6 separate regions of the Homo sapiens genome follow, and all the other regions are linked to region 6. The links are contacts of gene promoters, found by promoter capture Hi-C in blood cells and fetal thymus (Javierre and others, 2016). All regions are on one chromosome and are shown on one strand. The core of a region is centred on a gene start or on the middle of the fragment in contact, and the rest is flanking DNA. Distances in the headings are between cores, read along the strand shown.

Region 1 (2,700 bases), core at 97-2,596, 1.4 Mb after region 6:
CCTGAGGTCAGGAGTTAAAGACCAGTCTGGCTAACATGGTGAAACTGTCTCTACTAAAAATACAAAAATTAGGCGGGCATGATGGTGGATGCCTGTAATCCCAGCTACTCAGGAGGCTGAGGCCAGAGAATCACTTGAACCTGGGAGGCAGAGATTGCAGTGAGCCGAGATTGCACCATTGCACTCCAGCCTGGGTGACAAAAGAGAAACTCTGTCTCAAAAAATAAAAATAAAAATAAATAAAAAAATAAAAAAAGAGATAAGATAATATCAAGGGTGGCAGGTGGGGCTTCTCTGGAACATTGAGACTGAACCAGAAGGCAAAGGACAAATGACTACATGTACTCCAGCATCTGGTCTTTTACATTCAGAGAGTGGGACAGCCATGGCTACTGCTAGTTTATTTTCCTATGACAAATGCCATATATATACTAGATGAGTTCATTTTCTTTTACTTTAGGTAACGTAAGTACTGAAGAAATTTTTTAAAATTTAACCTTGAAAGATAATGTAGTGATAGATAACACTTCAAAAACTCAAGACATGCATGCCTTACCATGGGCCCTGCCTAGTAACAGCTCAGGTGCAAGGTAGTCTGGGGTTCCTAGAATTCGCCCATCATCAACGGGGGCCACCCCTCTTCTCACACTCTTCGGAGTTCGGTATGGAGTTCCCGACTTGATCTGATTTGGGGTCTGCTAATTCAAAAAGGGTTTAAGAGATAACAAATATCTTAATTCCTTTTACACCGAATAGAAAATGGTGAAACACACAAGCCAAATAACTAGCTCATAGGCTACTAGGCGTAAAGGATGTAGTCAAATTTTTGATAAGTTTTGAAAATGAATGCATAATTAGTTATAATTATGAAAAAGTCCTTTTATCTGGTGAAGTTCAAAAGCTTAGACAACACTGATTATTCCAATAAGATCTAGATAAGAAACAATAAAAAAAATCTGCAAGAAAAATGTTCAGTGAAAAAATCTGCAAGAAGACTGATAGCATGGACTAATACAAGCTTAAGAAGAGCCACTGAGGAAGGCTATGGCTAACAAATGATTAAGACAACACGTAAGACAGAACTACATATAACCTATTGTACTAAATAGCATTTAAAAATTTTTAGGATAATTTGTTATTTCACAACAAGTTTTTTTTTTTGAGATGGAGTTTCGCTCTTGTTGCCCAGGCTGGAGTGCAGTGGTGCGATCTCGGCTCACCACAACCTCCGCCTCCCAGGTTCAAGGAATTTTCCTGCCTCAGCCTCCCAAGTAGCTGGGATTACAGGCATACACCACCATGCCTGGCTAATTTTGTATTTTTAGTAGAGACGGGGTTTCTCCATGTTGGTCAGGCTGGTCTCGATCTCCCGACCTCAGGTGATCCTCCCACCTTGGCCTCCCAAAGATGGTGTGAGCCACCACGCCTGGCATTCACAACAACTTTGTAAGACCAGCAAGACAGGTGCCATTATCCCTTACAGACATTTAGAAAAATTGCAGGTCTGAGGTTAAGGGACTTCTAAGTCATTTAATAGTAAGTCTTGGGTAGAAAACTCAAGTTTCGAAACATAAATTCAGGGGTTACACATTTTATGTTATGATGTTTTCCCAAAGGAAGAAAAAAAGTAAAACTTTGGGTTGGTAAAGGTTTAGAATATAGAGAGTAAGCTTTGAAATATATATTTTTCGCTGGGCATGGTGGCTCATGCCCGTAATCCCAGCACTTTGGGAGGCCAAGGCAGGCAGATCACAAGGTCAAGAGATCGAGACCATCCTGGCCAACGTGGTGAAACCCCATCTCTACTAAAAATACAAAAATTAGCTGGGCATGGTGGCACATGCCTGTAGTCCTAGCTACTCAGGAGGCTGAAGCAGGAGAATCGCTTGAACCCGGGAGGCGGAGGTTGCAGTGAGCCAAGATCGCGCCACTGCACTCCAGCCTGGTGACAGAGCGAGACTTTGTCTCAAAAAAAAAAAAAAAAAAAAAAGAAACATATTTTTCAACTTTTATTCTCTTAAGAAGAGATCATCTAAATATGTCCTTGGAAGGCAGTAAGGTAGAGCGGACTTAAATTATCTCTGGCCAGGTGAGGTGGCTCACACCTGTAATCCTAGCACTTTGAGAGGCCGAGGTGGGCGGATTGCTTGAGGTCACGAGTTTGAGATCAGCCTGGGCAACATGGTGAAATTCCGACTCTACTAAAAATACAAAAATTAGCCAGGTGTGGTGGTGGGCCCCTTATAATCCCAGCTACTTGGGAGGCTGAGGCAGGAGAATCGCTTGAACCTGGGGGTGAAGTGTGCAATGAGCCAAGATCACACTACTGCACTCCAGCCTGGGCAAAAGAACGAGACTGTCTCAATAATAATAATAATAATAATAATAATAATAATAATAATAATTTTGTAACTCATAGTACTGTGGGGATCAAGTGAAAATTAATTTTGTAACTCATAGTACTGTGGGGATCAAGTGAAAATATGTGATTGTATTTTCTTAGGAAAGTACATAAAACGACACAAATGGAAGGAGGCATTACAGCTAAAAATAATAAACATGATTTCTACCAGCTTTACTTTTCTGGGTGAAAACTTCCAACAGCCCACAGATTCTCAACAAGAAGAACAGAACTATATGATTAATACCGCATAGTCTAGCTTAGAGGCAAATGTCTGTCTTCATAGTTTTTCTAAAATC
Region 2 (2,700 bases), core at 79-2,578, 1.3 Mb after region 6:
GAGAATTTGAAATTTGGCAGAGTATACATATAACTTTTTCACTTACACTAGTCAGTTTTGATTTGTCATAAGCTTTGAATAAAAGTACCTTATTACGATTGCTTAATAATAGTTATTCTATATTTTAGTATGTTTTTAAAGAGACATTTGCAGGTTATTTTGGTTATATCTACAGCATGTCTATTCATGTATTCTTTTATTTATTGAACCATCTTAGGCATTGCTATTAAAGTTTAAAATCTCAGAGTGTTTTGAAATCAAAGAAGCAAGCAACTAACAGAACCATAACTTTTGTTTCTATAAGCTAGAAATAAATCATTATCTAAAGTATTAATGCAATATAAAATCACTATTAGTATAGCTAAGCTAATTTATAACCTGATTATCAGTTGTATTCCCCAGGTGATTTGTATTTAATGTGTGTTTCCAACAGGTTCATTCCAGCCAACAAATGAAATGATGCTTAAATTTTATAGCTTCTATAAGCAGGCAACTGAAGGACCCTGTAAACTTTCAAGGCCTGGATTTTGGGATCCTATTGGAAGATATAAATGGTAATTTTTTGTGTAGAGCTATGCAAGAATTTAAATTTTAATGACATAATTATCATATGGCTATTACTTAAGTGGTTATATATTATTCTGTGCAGAAAGTGTCCTAGGTATTGGGTACAATTTTTATCCTCCAGGTTTTCTTTTTTGTTTGTTTGTTTTTGAGATGGAGTCTCACTCTGTTGCCCAGGCTGGAGTGCAGTGGCAGGATCTCGGCTCACTGCAGCCTCTGCCTCCTGGGTTCAAGTGATTCTCCTGCCTCATCTTCCTGAGTAGGTGGGATTACAGGTGCGCGCCACCACACCCAGCTAATTTTTGTATTTTTAGTAGAGACAGGGTTTCACTATGTTGGCCACGCTGGTCTCGAACTGCTGGGTTCAGGTGGTCCGCCCACCTCGGCCTCCCGAAGTGCTGGGATTACAGGCGTGAGCCACCATGCCCAGCCTTCCCAGGTGCTCTTAGTACAATTTTACACAAATAGGAAAATCTTGGGGAGGAGAGGAAAACAGTAAAACCAAAAGGGATAGGTGCATCAAAGATAAAGAAGCATTATCAGTTAATCTTTACTTTCATGGAGTTTTCCCTTTTTTTTTTTTTTTTTTTAAGGCAAGAGCAACTCCCAACCTAAGTTAAATAAACAAACTTTTAACTGCCTCTTTTGCCTGCAAGAAAAATAATGGCTTTTCCTTGTTTGTACTGAGCCTTGAAGATAATAAATAACTAGGAATATGACTCAGGTACTGCCATGCTAACTTTTTATCTAAGCTGTCACTTCTGACCTACTGTAATTGAATAGAAATTTGATCTTTTATATACTTAAAAGAATTCTAAACTAAAAAGTATACTTAAATGAATTATAAACTATAAACTAAAAGAATTATAGATACAGGTACCTGTACTCATCCGTGCTGTTTTCCCAGTTGACTAACAGTTGATACTCTAATACAATTGAAGCCTTCACAAATGTCTGAGAAAAGTCAATTTTAGACTGTACGTTATGAACAGAATATGCTAATTGGTGAAGCATGTTTTATTTATTTATTTATTTTTGAGATGGAGTTTCACTCTTGTTGCCCAGGCTGGAGTGCAATGGCGTGACCTCAGCTCACCGCAACCTCTGCCTCCCAGGTTCAAGCGATTCTCCTGCCTCAGCCTCCTGAGTAGCTAGGATTACAGGCATGCGCCACCACGCCTAGCTAATTTTGTATTTTTAGTAGAGACAGGGTTTCTCCATGTTGGTCAGGCTGGTCTTGAACTCCCGACATCAGGTGATCTGCCCGCCTCGGCCTCCCAAAGTGGTGGGATTATAGGCGTGAGCCACCCCCCGCTCCCGCCCCAGTGGTGAAGCATGTTTTAAAACCCACACCTTTTTTTTGGACACAGGGTCTCACTCCCATCACTCAGGCTGGAGTGTAGTGGCACCATCATGGCTCACTGCAACCTCTGCCTCCTGGGCTCAAACAATTCTCCCACCTCAGCCGCCCTAGTAGCTGGGACCACATGCTTGTGCCACCACACCCGGCTAATTTTTTAAATTTTTTCCTAGACGGGGTTTGCATGTGTTGCCCAGGCTGGTCTCAAATTCCTGGTCTCAAGTGATCCACCTGCCTTGGCTGGGATTACAGGTGTGAACCACCATGCCACACCAGTTTTTTTTTTTTTTTTTCTTCAGACGGAGTCTCACTCTGTCGCCCAGGCTGGAGTGCAGTGGCGCGATCTTGGCTCACTGAATCTCCGCCTCCCAAGTTCAAGCAATTCTCCTGCCTCAGCCTCACGAGTAGCTGGGATTACAGGCGCGTGCCACCACGCCTGGCTAATTTTTATGTCTTTAGTAAAGACAGAATTTCACCATGTTGGCCAGGCTAGTCTCGAACTCCTGACCTAAAGTGATCCGCCCGCCATGGCCTCTCAAAGTGCTGAGATTACAGGCATAAGCCACTGTGCCCTGCCCATTTTTGTTTGTTTGTTTGTTTTTTCCCCACACACTGTGATGCTCAGTTTCTTCACCCTGAACTGGAAGTGCCATAAGCTTGTTTTAAGATTTCTTAGTTCTCTACTTTCCTTTAAGATCTTTATGAATTGTCACAAAATAACAGGTTAAATGAAATAGTAATATGTTATTATTTCATATAACTTAATTTTAGTAGTA
Region 3 (2,700 bases), core at 72-2,571, 1.0 Mb after region 6:
ACGAAAAGAAGCCAGTAAGGAAAAACGAGGCATTAAAAATAAGCCCAAAGTTTGAAACCTCAAATTTTATAAATATCTATACTAACAAACAAGAAAAATAAAATTTTTTCCTAAATATCACGTCATTCCTCCTCCCCTTAAAAATTGTCTTTAGTGTTAGTTCAGTCTAGATGGTCTTTTTAAAACTTCAAAGAAACATATCCAATTATGATTCTCTTTGGCAGATGAGATGATTTTTTAATATTCTGTTCTGTTTTGAAATATTCATAAAGAATTATGCATTGTGAAAATTTAAACAAAACATAGCTGCCTAATTACCCAATTATAAGACATTACTGTTTATCCTTTAATCAGTATCAAATCTCCCAAAAGTTATTTAATACAAATTGTTCATTCACCACCTCTAGAACACTACACAAATCAATTTCTGCATCCTTAAAAAGTAAAGTTTAATATTTTAAAAATACATTTTAAAAACTCTTACCCATATTGCAAGTTTAGCCTTATTTCCATCCACTGAAATTGTTTTCACCTTAAAGTCAACACCTTAAAGAAATGAAAATTTTGATAAGTCTCCCAGTAAAACAGACTTTTAAAATCCATTACCAAGAAAACCAGAAAACAGAAAAGTCACTATTATCAAATGCCCAATTCACACCCCAACTTCTTAGAATTCTGGATGTGGAGATAAAAAGTGTCATTAAAATCCAGGATCTTAGGATTTAATCAGGATAAATGAAAATCAAATGCTTGTAGAATTCACTCACTCACCTACCTTCTATTCTTCCAAAAAGGAAAAACGAAATTCAATTTAAGGTGATAACTCACTATGCGTGTTAAAAGTCAAGAGCTGCAATTACAATGCTCACATAAAGAAGACTATCCATGGCTGACTGTGGGTCATGGCAGCTTCCAGGGGCTCCCTAAGCATCCACATGCTACTGTTAAGAGTGCTGTCCACTGCCAGCCAACCACTAACTCAGATCTTGACTGTAAGCAGCTTGGGGAACCGGTAAAAATATTAAAGGGCCACTCACTCCTTGTCATATAATCTCTTTATTTTTATCCTAAAAAAATACTATTTTTATGTAATAACCTAATCAATAACTTGCTACAGCACAATTTCAATAAAACAATTTATACATGAAAACATTTATATACAACCATCTAAGAATCTTCATAAGTGAAAGAGGAGTGCCCAAAGTTCTATGAAAAGCTTCTATAAGTACTAATTTATGTAAAGAAAAGAGTTTCATAAGAAGTCCACAAGGCTTTATTACAGCAGCCAAAAAAGAAACCTCTCCCTTTCCAGGAAAAGGAGTTGACACATGCCATCTGGCTTAAATGAACAGCAACTGCCCACATGTCTTTCAAGAGTTCAGTCTACCCCACTGGCCAGAGGGAAAACATTAGCTCAAGAAGCTTGGAAAGAAACTTTCAAAATATCTTATTAGCTTGTCACAATTAATTCAGAACAGCCCCAACTAAGATGAACAGCACCCTCACATACTAAATGCTTAATAGAACACCTGTCACCAATATGGAAATATATTTGTAATTCTTGGAAGACTTGTGGTGATCCATTACATATACAAATTCAGTAATAAAAATGCACATTCAAAATGTGCATTATGCCAGGTCTTTCTGTATACCAAATATATATATTTTTAAGTTTGGTGTTTTGAGCTGGGGTGATAAAGGAGTTGATAAAGCCTAGAATGATGGGCAACCATTAGTAAAAGGACAGTGTTGATTACATAGCCCAACAAAAACCTAAATATAAAATTTCTTCACAGCCAAACAAACAAAAAATCCCACATGCTAAATAATCTTGTATTAACCAGGTCTAAATAAAGAAGTTACTATGCCATTTTAAAAGTGGAACCATCTACATAAACAACATGAAATTATCTACATTTTCTTCCTATTGCTTTAAAAAAAAAAAAGCAAAGCACAAACCCTGAGAAAATTCAGAGGAGGAAAATGGTTCTGACTTGGTGCAGGTACTAAATGACAGCCACTGGCAGACACTACACAGAGATAGCCTCTGTCATGCACACTCTACAGTTAAATTCTCAAGGTTTTTCAGGGAGTATATAAAGAACTAATTTTTTTCCTTAATAATCCCAGATACATGTTCAAGAGCAGACAAGCATCTTTCCTATGAGCTAATTTGTTTACCCAAGAAAAGAAACCCACCGCTTCCAGAATGTATGTGTTTTCTTCCCATACCCCAACTCCTCTTTCTCTATTATTATTTCCTGGTTCTGCAAGTTTGTTGTGAACAGTCTAATGACTGTCTCTGACATAAGAATAATTTGCATGTGGATAACTAACAATGTCTCTAAGTTATGCTTTTGACATATTATATCTGAAACTTACCAATACCCATCCACAGGAGACACTGAACACTGTCGTCCTGCCATCAAAGCCAACAGACACAGGTAGCCTGAAGGGGCACCTAATCTAAATCCAGACCCCTAAAGTCCCCAGTCATCTTCCCTAGGTTCCTCTGGTGAATCTCACATGCAGCAATTGAGCTCTTCAGATCTCACATGCTAAAACTGCTTCTTCATCATGCTTCTCTTTTGTTAAGTGGCTGATAATTTATCTTAATTGGTAGCAGCAGTGGGAGTCTTTTTGAGAGATTTGATTTTGCCAGTTTCTTACCCAATTTGATTAAACTGTGTCTTCAATCTC
Region 4 (2,700 bases), core at 5-2,504, 1.7 Mb after region 6:
TGATCCACCCGCCTTGGCCTCCCAAAGTGCTGGGATTACAGGTGTGAGCCACCGCACCCGGCCCTAAACAGGGTTCTTATGGCAACATAGGGGATAAAAACAATGTGCGCAGAGGGTAATAGAGAAGGGTAGAGGGTAATATAATTGCCTCTATTTATTGAATACGTACTCCATTGCAGTCTCTGCTGGTTGGTTTTGTATTATCTTTAATCCTTACAAACTCGCCACGACAGACAGTGCTGTCTTACATATGAGGAAATTAGGACTCATAAAAGTTAAGTTTTGTTTAGTCATAGAGTTAGTAATTGGCAGTCAGGACTTCCTTCTGACTCTGGCAGACTCCATAGGCTGTGCTCTTTTCATATCATACTGTTTTCACATGAAAGAATCTAGAACTCAAAACTGGTTCAGGAATACCGTGGAATAAACAGAATAGACTGGTATTGGGCAAGCCTGGGAACCTAACAACTCTTTACCATTGTTTCCAGGTTGTGAATATAAGAAGAGATATGTTTGTAATTTAGGGACTTGCCTATATCACCAAAAGATGGTAACTTTGGCATTTGAAGTGTTCAACTACAGGTTAAGTATCCTTTATTCAAAATGCTTGGGACCAGAAATGTTTCAGATTTTTTTTTGAATTTTGGAATGTTTGCATTATATACTTACTGGTTGAGCCTCCCTAATCTGAAAATCTGAAATCCAGAATAGTCTAATGAGCATTTATTTTTGTGTCATGTTGATGCTCAAGAAGTTTTGGGTTTTGGATTTCCAGATTAGGGATACTGAACCTGTATAGGAATTACAGCCTAGCTTTTCACTGAGCTCCCTGGATCCTTTTTTCTTTTCCTGCATCCTTGCCTGTCTTTTTTCTATTGTTAGTCTGTGTTGCAATTGTGCTAAGAAATTTTGAAGAAGCATTTGTAGAGATTAACAAAAAATATGTGGAAATATTCTGGGTAGATGTGATTTCTATACAAACCAGGTTTGGGGAAAAACAGTCAAAGTGATTCAGGAGATGAGGATAGACTGGAATGGTTAGAATTCCTAGAATTGCACTTTGAAGTGTGAGTAAAACAGTGACTAGCAAAGTTAGAGATGTAGGTTGGAAATGTAAATGTATTTAACAGAAGGTTAGATAATTTTATGGAAGATCCTCAGTTAATTGTTAAATCGACCCATACCATGTCATTACATGTTTATTCATGCTGTTGTGTCAAGGTGATACAGGGCTGGGTAGAGCAGGATCTGACCTAGCATATCAGTTCTTTTTTTTTCTTTTCTTTCCTTTTTTTTTTTCTTCTTTCACACCAAGTCTGTGAACCCAGCATATCAGTTCTTATGAAAGTCCATATCACATATATCAGTTCTTGCTAATACTCTCAAGGTGAGAATACTGCATATTTTTAGGACTATATAATATTTGCAAATTTGTATTAAAACTAATGTCTTCTCTTTTTTCTTTTGTGGCTTTAATACTAATAACAGCTTTATATGTAGTACTTCTGACTAGTCCTGGTCTGTTTAGAACCTCAATTTTAGCATGCTTCTGTCTTTTGGAGAGTTTTCTTAGAAAATTATTGAAATAATCTCTTAGGATACTTGCAAATTTTTCTTGTGTGCTTCTGCGTTCTCCAGTTGATTCTGATAGCTCAGGAATGCTAATAGTCCTTGTGGAAAGGAGATATTTAGGCAACTGGGGATCTGCTGTGTGACCATTTACAGTAACCTTATTTATATTCAGTGAAATTATGTCCTAAGAATTAAGACAGTTAACAGTCAAAAATATGTTAGCCAGAAAGGAAGAGTGTTCATATTGGGACAAGAGGTTGGATCAAACTCTAGGATATTGTGCAGATATAAATCTATAAAACCCATGAAAATAGTGTTGGCATGAAAAGTAAGGTAAAGGCTGGGCGTGGTGGCTCACACCTGTAATCCCAGCACTTTGGGAGGATGAGGCGGGCGGATCATGAGGTCAGAAGATCGAGACCATCCTGGCTAACATGGTGAAACCCCGTCTCTACTAAAAATACAGAAACAAAGTTAGCTGGGTGTGGTGGCGGGCATCTGTAGTCCCAGCTACCTGGGAGGCTGAGGCGGCTGAATGGCGTGAACCCGGAGGCGGAGCTTGCAGTGAGCTGAGATTGTGCCACTGAACTCCAGCCTGGCAGCCTGGGTGACAGAGCGAGACTCCGTCTCAAAAAAAAAAAAAAAAAAAAGTAAGGTAAAATTGATAGTTAATGCTAATTTTGAAGCATTTACAAAGTTTTGATTGGGAGGTTGTATATTTTTCCTAATATCATCTTGTGTTGATTGTAATATTTATTGAAATTATGGTTTGATTGTAGAAGAAATAATAGTCAAACCCCAGAACTACAAACTTTGTAGATCTTAATATTTACTAAGACATCATGTTAGAAAAAAGGGATTTTTTTTAAAAAAAAAAAAGGGCATTGTTGAGAAATAAGACAATAGGAAAGTAGCAATTACTGGATTTTTTTTTTTTTTTTTTTTGAGATGGAGTCTCGCTCTGTCACCCAGGCCGGAGTGCAGTGGTGTGATCTCGGCTCACTGCAAGCTCCGCCTCCCGGGTTCACGCCATCGATTTTGTTTTTAAAGGAAATAGTTGACGTGGTCATTTTAACAGTAAATATCCATCCCTTAGAATGGAGACTTGAGATTTGACTACTGTGTGTC
Region 5 (2,700 bases), core at 38-2,537, 1.0 Mb after region 6:
TTTTTCTTCTCTCCCAACATACTCAGTTACCCATAATTTAAGAAAAGATACATAATATCTACACGTGGTCACCACAGAAAATATTACTACAAAAACATAAGATTACCTTGTAGACTAGTTGTAATAATATCATAATAATAATACAATAATGATGATATTGGGTATTATTTATTGAACATATGGCAATGTGCAGACACAAAGCCAGAGGTTTTTCTCTCATAATTGCTAATCCTTAAATGGCCTTTGTTATTAACAGTACTTTGTAAGGAGAGGCAGGGAATTGGTGGCATGGTGTGAAGCAACAAATTTTAATACAGGCTCTGGGTATACATCAGATCTTAGACAGGGGTACCCTGGTAGCCCAAAAAGTATTCTAAATTCTATGTGTGCATTTTTCTAGGCAGAGAGTCCATTTCTCTATTAGACTTTGAAAGGGACAGAGAGTCCATTTCTCTATTAGATTTTGAAAAGAACTGACAATCTCAAAATAATTAAGAAGCACACTTTTTTTTTTTTTTTTTTAAGAGAGAGGGTCTCACTCTGTCACCCAGGCTGGAATGCAGTGGCAGAATCACAGCTCACTAATCCTCCCACCTTAGCCCCCCAAGTAACTGGCATGACAGGTGTGCATCACCATGGCCGGCTAATTTTTTTATTTTTATTTTTTTAGAGGCATGGTCTCGTTATGTTGCCCAAGCTGGTCTCGGACTCCTGGCCTCAAGAGATCCTCCTGTCTCAGCCTCCCGAGTAGCTAGGATTACAGGATGAGCCACTGCACCTGGCAGAAGCACCATTCTTATAGTATTGTATATTTACACCCTCATATTTTCAAAGTTAAAGGAGCAAAATGTTTCCCATGCAGAAGTAGAGATGGAAGGAGTAACTACCACCATGGCACTTAGATGTGACCAAATTTATAATAAACAGAGTGTGATTATAACTAATCTGCATTTTTTAAATTTACATATGAAATTCACCAAAAAAAAAAAAAAAAGGGAAGGCAAGGGGCAAAGGAGGGACAGCAATTTAGATAATAGGTCTCTCTAATCCCTTCCAGTTCTTGATATATTCTGCTACTCTTTACCTTACCAGGCCTAGCCACAGAATTGGAGTCTTACACATTTAGGGTCTGAGAGGTTTCTATTCCAACCCCCTCGCTTTTGAAATGAAGGCCTACAGCATTCAAGTATCACACACAAGGTCACACAAGTGGCAGCCCCAGTTTCATAATCCTGATCTCCTGACTACTATCACATACCCTTTAGACTCTAACACTATGAAATCACTAGAAAGTAATCCACTAATTCGGATTAAACATATCCTTTGTTTTCCCCAACAGCACAAGTGCTATCTCACTTCCACTAGCTCCAGCTCTGTAATGAAATAGAAACAAACTTGGTTAAAACAATCCTTTAAGATCATATCCACAGCAAATGTTTTTGTACTAATTCACTTTAAAAGGCATAGACTTCTATTTCAGTGGAGTCATTTATTCTCATCTTATCCAGAGTGTTTAAGATTGTTTTCCACAGCATATCACACAGGCCAATAATGTATATCTAGCTAGACAAATAAGACAACTTTCTCACTATATGTAATCCTTTCACAAAAGAAATAAAGTGACAAAATCCTGCATCGAGCAGTTGATAATCCATTGCTACGTATTGAGGAAAAAGTTTAAAACAGATTAGGCCCACGGTAAATTTGTTTCTTTGTTTCGGTGGCATGAACTAGGGAGACTGATAAATCCACTTAACAGGCCTTACTCTACAAGGAGAACCTCGGTTGGGTGTCATGCCTTGTGTCTGTAATCCCAGCACTTTAGGAGTATGAGGCAGGAGTTTGGCTTGAGCCTGTGTGTTGGAGACCACCTGGGCAACATAGGAAAATCCCATCTATGAAAAAAATTTTAGAAGTAGGGCCGGTTGTGGTGGCTCATGCTTATGTTCCTAGCACTTTGGGAGGTCAAGGCAGGAGGATCTGTTGAGCTCAGGAGTTCGAGACAGCCTGGGCAACACAGTGAGTCCTCCTCTCTATAAAAAATAAAAAAACACTAGTCAGACATGGTGACTCGTGCCTATAGTCCAGCTACTCAAAAGGCTGAGGTGGGAGGATCACTTGAGCCCAGGAGATTGAGACTGCAGTGAGCTATGATCATGCCACTGCACTCCAGTCTGGGTGACAGAATAAGACCCTGTCTCAAAAAAACAGCGGGTAGAGCAGAGGAATTTTGTTTATATACTCCAGTTAACCTTCCAGAAAATTTTAACATACCCTAACTTGTCATCCATGCAATACATTTAGAAAAAGTGCTAACCAACCATGTATTGGGTTGAACTACATGAAATGACAACCAACCATTCTTGACTTCAAAAACACTAATTTCATATGCCTGAACTTAAATGAGAACGATATCTCAAGGAAAAAAGGAGAAAAGAAAAAGAAAGATCACAAGGCTGTGAAATTCCTATTAAGACAACGTTTAACTTTTTAACACTCAAATATGTATGTGCAATAATAGATGATCATGTAAATAATTTTACTCATGCCTTTTACACACACACAGACAAATCATGCTGGTTTGCTAACTCATAGTATTTCATTATTCTATTCCTTGGTATGTGCAAATCCTTCATTCCAGTAGACACAGAGGACATTACATGAGGAACACTATGAAAATGTGTTGTCAAACTGGTGGCT
Region 6 (2,700 bases), core at 1-2,500:
CTGTTTCCTCGCATACATTACCATCAATGCCCGGCCTGTGAGTGTGTGTCGGGGAGGGGGGAGAGCGGCCGCGAAAGGCGGGCGGGCGCGCAGGCGGCGGCGGCGGCGGGCGGCGGGCAGCCCCGGCACCTGGGCCCGGCGCGCCCTCGGCGACTCTCATCAGCTCCCAGTTACTGGCGCCGGCGCTCCCGGGCCATCTCCCTCCGTCGACACCACGCTCACTCTCAGCCGGGGCAGCGGCGCCAACTACACGGCGGCACCGCGAACCGGGGGGAGGGGGGCAAGACGACGCGTCCGGCTCAGCCCCGCGGAGAGCGACTGCCTCCTCCGCCTTCTCCTCCTCCTGCTCCGCCGCCTCCTCCCCTCCTCCCCCCGCCGCCGCCGCTGCTGCCGCCGCCTGGTCCTTCTTCTCCTCCTCCTCCTCCCGCCGCCGCCGCCGCCGCTGGTGCCGCCGCTGCCGCTCCACCAACTACATCCGGGCAACTCGGACGCTGCCGCCTTCGGGAAACCTCGGCAGTTTCCGCCGGGCCCCTCCTCTCCCACCCTCGGCCTTCCTCCCCGCACCGCGCGGGTCCGGAACACCGCCCTCGGCAAACCTCGGCTGGCTCCGGCCTTTCTCCTCCTCTGAGGCCTGGATCTTCTCTTCGCGACCAGTCTGCCCTTTCCTTCTTTTCCTCACTCGCGAGTCGGCCACCGCCGTTCCCGTTTAGGGATAGTCTCGCTCGGGCGCCTGCTCGAGGCTGATCTCAGGGGCTCCGGGCTGCGCAGGGAGGGAGCCGCCTTCCGGAAGAGGACGGTGGGGCGCGAGGGAAGCCATCGCGGACTAAATAAGGGAGGCTGCAGCGGCTGCGCGTGCGCCCAGAGGCGCAGCGGGAGGGGGTGCTCTCGGGCGAGCTCTCCGGCCGCGGCCCCCGCCCCTGCGCTGTCGGGCGGGGAGGTCGGAAACCCCCTGGCGAGACCACGGGCGGACGCTTCCCGAAGAGCTGCCTGGGCTGCAGCCGCGGAAGCTGCGTTCTGGGGAGCGGGGAGCGTGCTCCGGCGCCTTCGGGCCGCTGCTGGAAGCCGGAACCGAGCCCGGGCCGCTGCCCCTCACCGGACGCCGCGCGCCACCGGCCCTCCGCGGGGCAGGGGCTGCTGCGAGCTCGCCGGGCGCCCTTTAGACGTAAGTCTCACCCTGCGCCCCGAGGCAGGAAGGAGCGCGTGCAGTCCCGGCCAGAAACGGCTAATAGGAAGGGCTGAGGGGTTCTGTGTTCAAGGCAGAAGGCCGTGCGTCAGGGCGGCCCTCAGCGGAGATGCGTGCACGGAGCGGGGAGCGCCGCTCGGGGCAGGGAATGAAAGCGGCGCTTGAGACTGGAAATTTAGGGAGATGAGTTCCTTGGGAACAACGCTGAACCATCTCACTGCCCCACCCTACCCCTTGTTATTTTTTTTTGAGACAGGTCTCGCGCTGTCGTCCAGTCTGAGTGCAGTGACGCGATCACGGCTCACTGCAGCCTCGACCTCCGGGGCTTACGGGTCATCCCACCTCAGCCCTCTAAGTAGCTGGCACCACGGGCATGCACCACCACACCCGGCTAATTTTTTAAAAAAAGTTTTTCCGGAGATAGGGTCTCGCTGTGTTACCCAGGCTGGTCTCGAACCCCTGGCCTGAAGCGATCCTCCCGCCTCGGCCTCCCAAAGTGCTGGGATTACAGGCGTGAGCCACTGCGCTCGGCTTTTCACCCCTTTCTAACGTTTTCCATCCCTTTCTAACGTTTTCCATACCCAGCGGTGCCCTGCCCACCCTCTCTTTATCTCTCACTTTTCCCTCCTCTGTTTCTTCCTCGCTGAAGTCCATTGGTGAAAGAAAATTCATGTGAAAGTTCTCAGGTGTGTTAAGTGAAATTGCTACAAATTTGATTTTATGTACTGCTGCAGGTACATTGAGAGAAGAAACGTGAAGTATACCAAACAACCGTTAGTTGAGAGTGGTGGTATTCGGGTGATTGGTTGACTTTTTTTTTTTTTTTTGCACTATTTGTAAGGCAACATAGTTTAATGAAAAGAATTGTGGTAAACATAATTAGGTGATTAACACAGAAGAGGCAAATAGTAAACAAGTCAGAAGAAACAACCCCCTCCAAAAAATAAAAAGTAACTGATTTACTTGGTATCCAAGAAGTTACGTTATTGCTAGACCTAATAGAATGGAGAGATGGAATGATGTAGGGAGAAAGGCTCTGAAATCACAACTGGTTGGAAAAAAAATTTTAATTACATAATCTTATTTGTCACATCCATCTGCCAGATGTAGAGCTTATTGCTGTTTGTGGAGATGTGCAGACCAATAAAAAGCCTATTTAATGCTCTCTTAAACTACCAGTAACTAAAAAAAAAAATTGACAGTGACTGAAATTATGAAAACAAAAAAATTCGGTAGCATCTTAACATGTAATTTCTGACATATTTGTAGTGAATCCATTGAAGACAAACATCAGAGGAGTACAACAAATAACATTTCATAGAAACTTTGAAAACTGGCAGCAAAATTACTACTAATTTGTTTGATAACTAGATGTCTGCTGAAATTGGTATAAACCATTTGCTCAAAAGTAGCCAGGCATGGTGATGCATGCCTGTATTCCTAGCTACTCCCAGAGGCTGAAGCTGAACAATCACTTTAGTCCAGGAGTTCGAGACTGCAGTGAGTCATGATCACAC

What was found. Contacts are between HindIII fragments. The CHiCAGO score rates a contact against its expected background, and 5 or more counts as called.
Region 1: a contact is called between a fragment that was not itself captured here and the fragment with the promoter of WAC-AS1 in region 6, in 1 of 17 cell types (naive B cells). The highest score is 5.1, in naive B cells.
Region 2: a contact is called between a fragment that was not itself captured here and the fragment with the promoter of WAC-AS1 in region 6, in 1 of 17 cell types (fetal thymus). The highest score is 8.5, in fetal thymus.
Region 3: a contact is called between a fragment that was not itself captured here and the fragment with the promoter of WAC-AS1 in region 6, in 2 of 17 cell types (fetal thymus and activated CD4 T cells). The highest score is 6.3, in fetal thymus.
Region 4: a contact is called between a fragment that was not itself captured here and the fragment with the promoter of WAC-AS1 in region 6, in 1 of 17 cell types (fetal thymus). The highest score is 5.1, in fetal thymus.
Region 5: a contact is called between a fragment that was not itself captured here and the fragment with the promoter of WAC-AS1 in region 6, in 2 of 17 cell types (non-activated CD4 T cells and total B cells). The highest score is 7.4, in non-activated CD4 T cells.

The regions. Positions count from the first base shown.
Region 1 is chr10:27,171,116-27,173,815 of GRCh38, reverse strand. MASTL (microtubule associated serine/threonine kinase like) reads right to left here. Exons shown (of 12, transcript NM_001172303.3): 9 at 557-698. Among named protein-coding and RNA genes, the nearest start is that of MASTL, 17 kb to the right of the region's middle. The HindIII fragment of the contact is 652 bases long and covers 1,021-1,672 here.
Region 2 is chr10:27,232,946-27,235,645 of GRCh38, reverse strand. ACBD5 (acyl-CoA binding domain containing 5) reads left to right here. Exons shown (of 13, transcript NM_145698.5): 3 at 434-554. Among named protein-coding and RNA genes, the nearest start is that of ACBD5, 6.5 kb to the left of the region's middle. The HindIII fragment of the contact is 2,508 bases long and covers 75-2,582 here.
Region 3 is chr10:27,524,674-27,527,373 of GRCh38, reverse strand. It overlaps RAB18 (RAB18, member RAS oncogene family), which reads right to left. Exons shown (of 7, transcript NM_021252.5): 3 at 485-546. Among named protein-coding and RNA genes, the nearest start is that of RAB18, 22 kb to the right of the region's middle. The HindIII fragment of the contact is 206 bases long and covers 1,219-1,424 here.
Region 4 is chr10:26,853,052-26,855,751 of GRCh38, reverse strand. All of the region lies in intron 1 of ABI1 (abl interactor 1), which reads left to right. Among named protein-coding and RNA genes, the nearest start is that of ABI1, 6.6 kb to the left of the region's middle. The HindIII fragment of the contact is 9,481 bases long and covers 1-2,700 here.
Region 5 is chr10:27,505,841-27,508,540 of GRCh38, reverse strand. All of the region lies in intron 1 of RAB18 (RAB18, member RAS oncogene family), which reads right to left. Among named protein-coding and RNA genes, the nearest start is that of RAB18, 2.9 kb to the right of the region's middle. The HindIII fragment of the contact is 3,454 bases long and covers 1-2,700 here.
Region 6 is chr10:28,530,904-28,533,603 of GRCh38, reverse strand. WAC-AS1 (WAC antisense RNA 1) reads left to right here and starts at 1,250. Exons shown (of 3, transcript NR_033805.1): 1 at 1,250-1,869. WAC (WW domain containing adaptor with coiled-coil) reads right to left here and starts at 486. Exons shown (of 14, transcript NM_016628.5): 1 at 1-486. The coding sequence starts at 24. RefSeq lists silencers at 3-82, 293-442, 813-1,232 and enhancers at 593-782, 403-1,086. The HindIII fragment of the contact is 8,015 bases long and covers 1-2,700 here.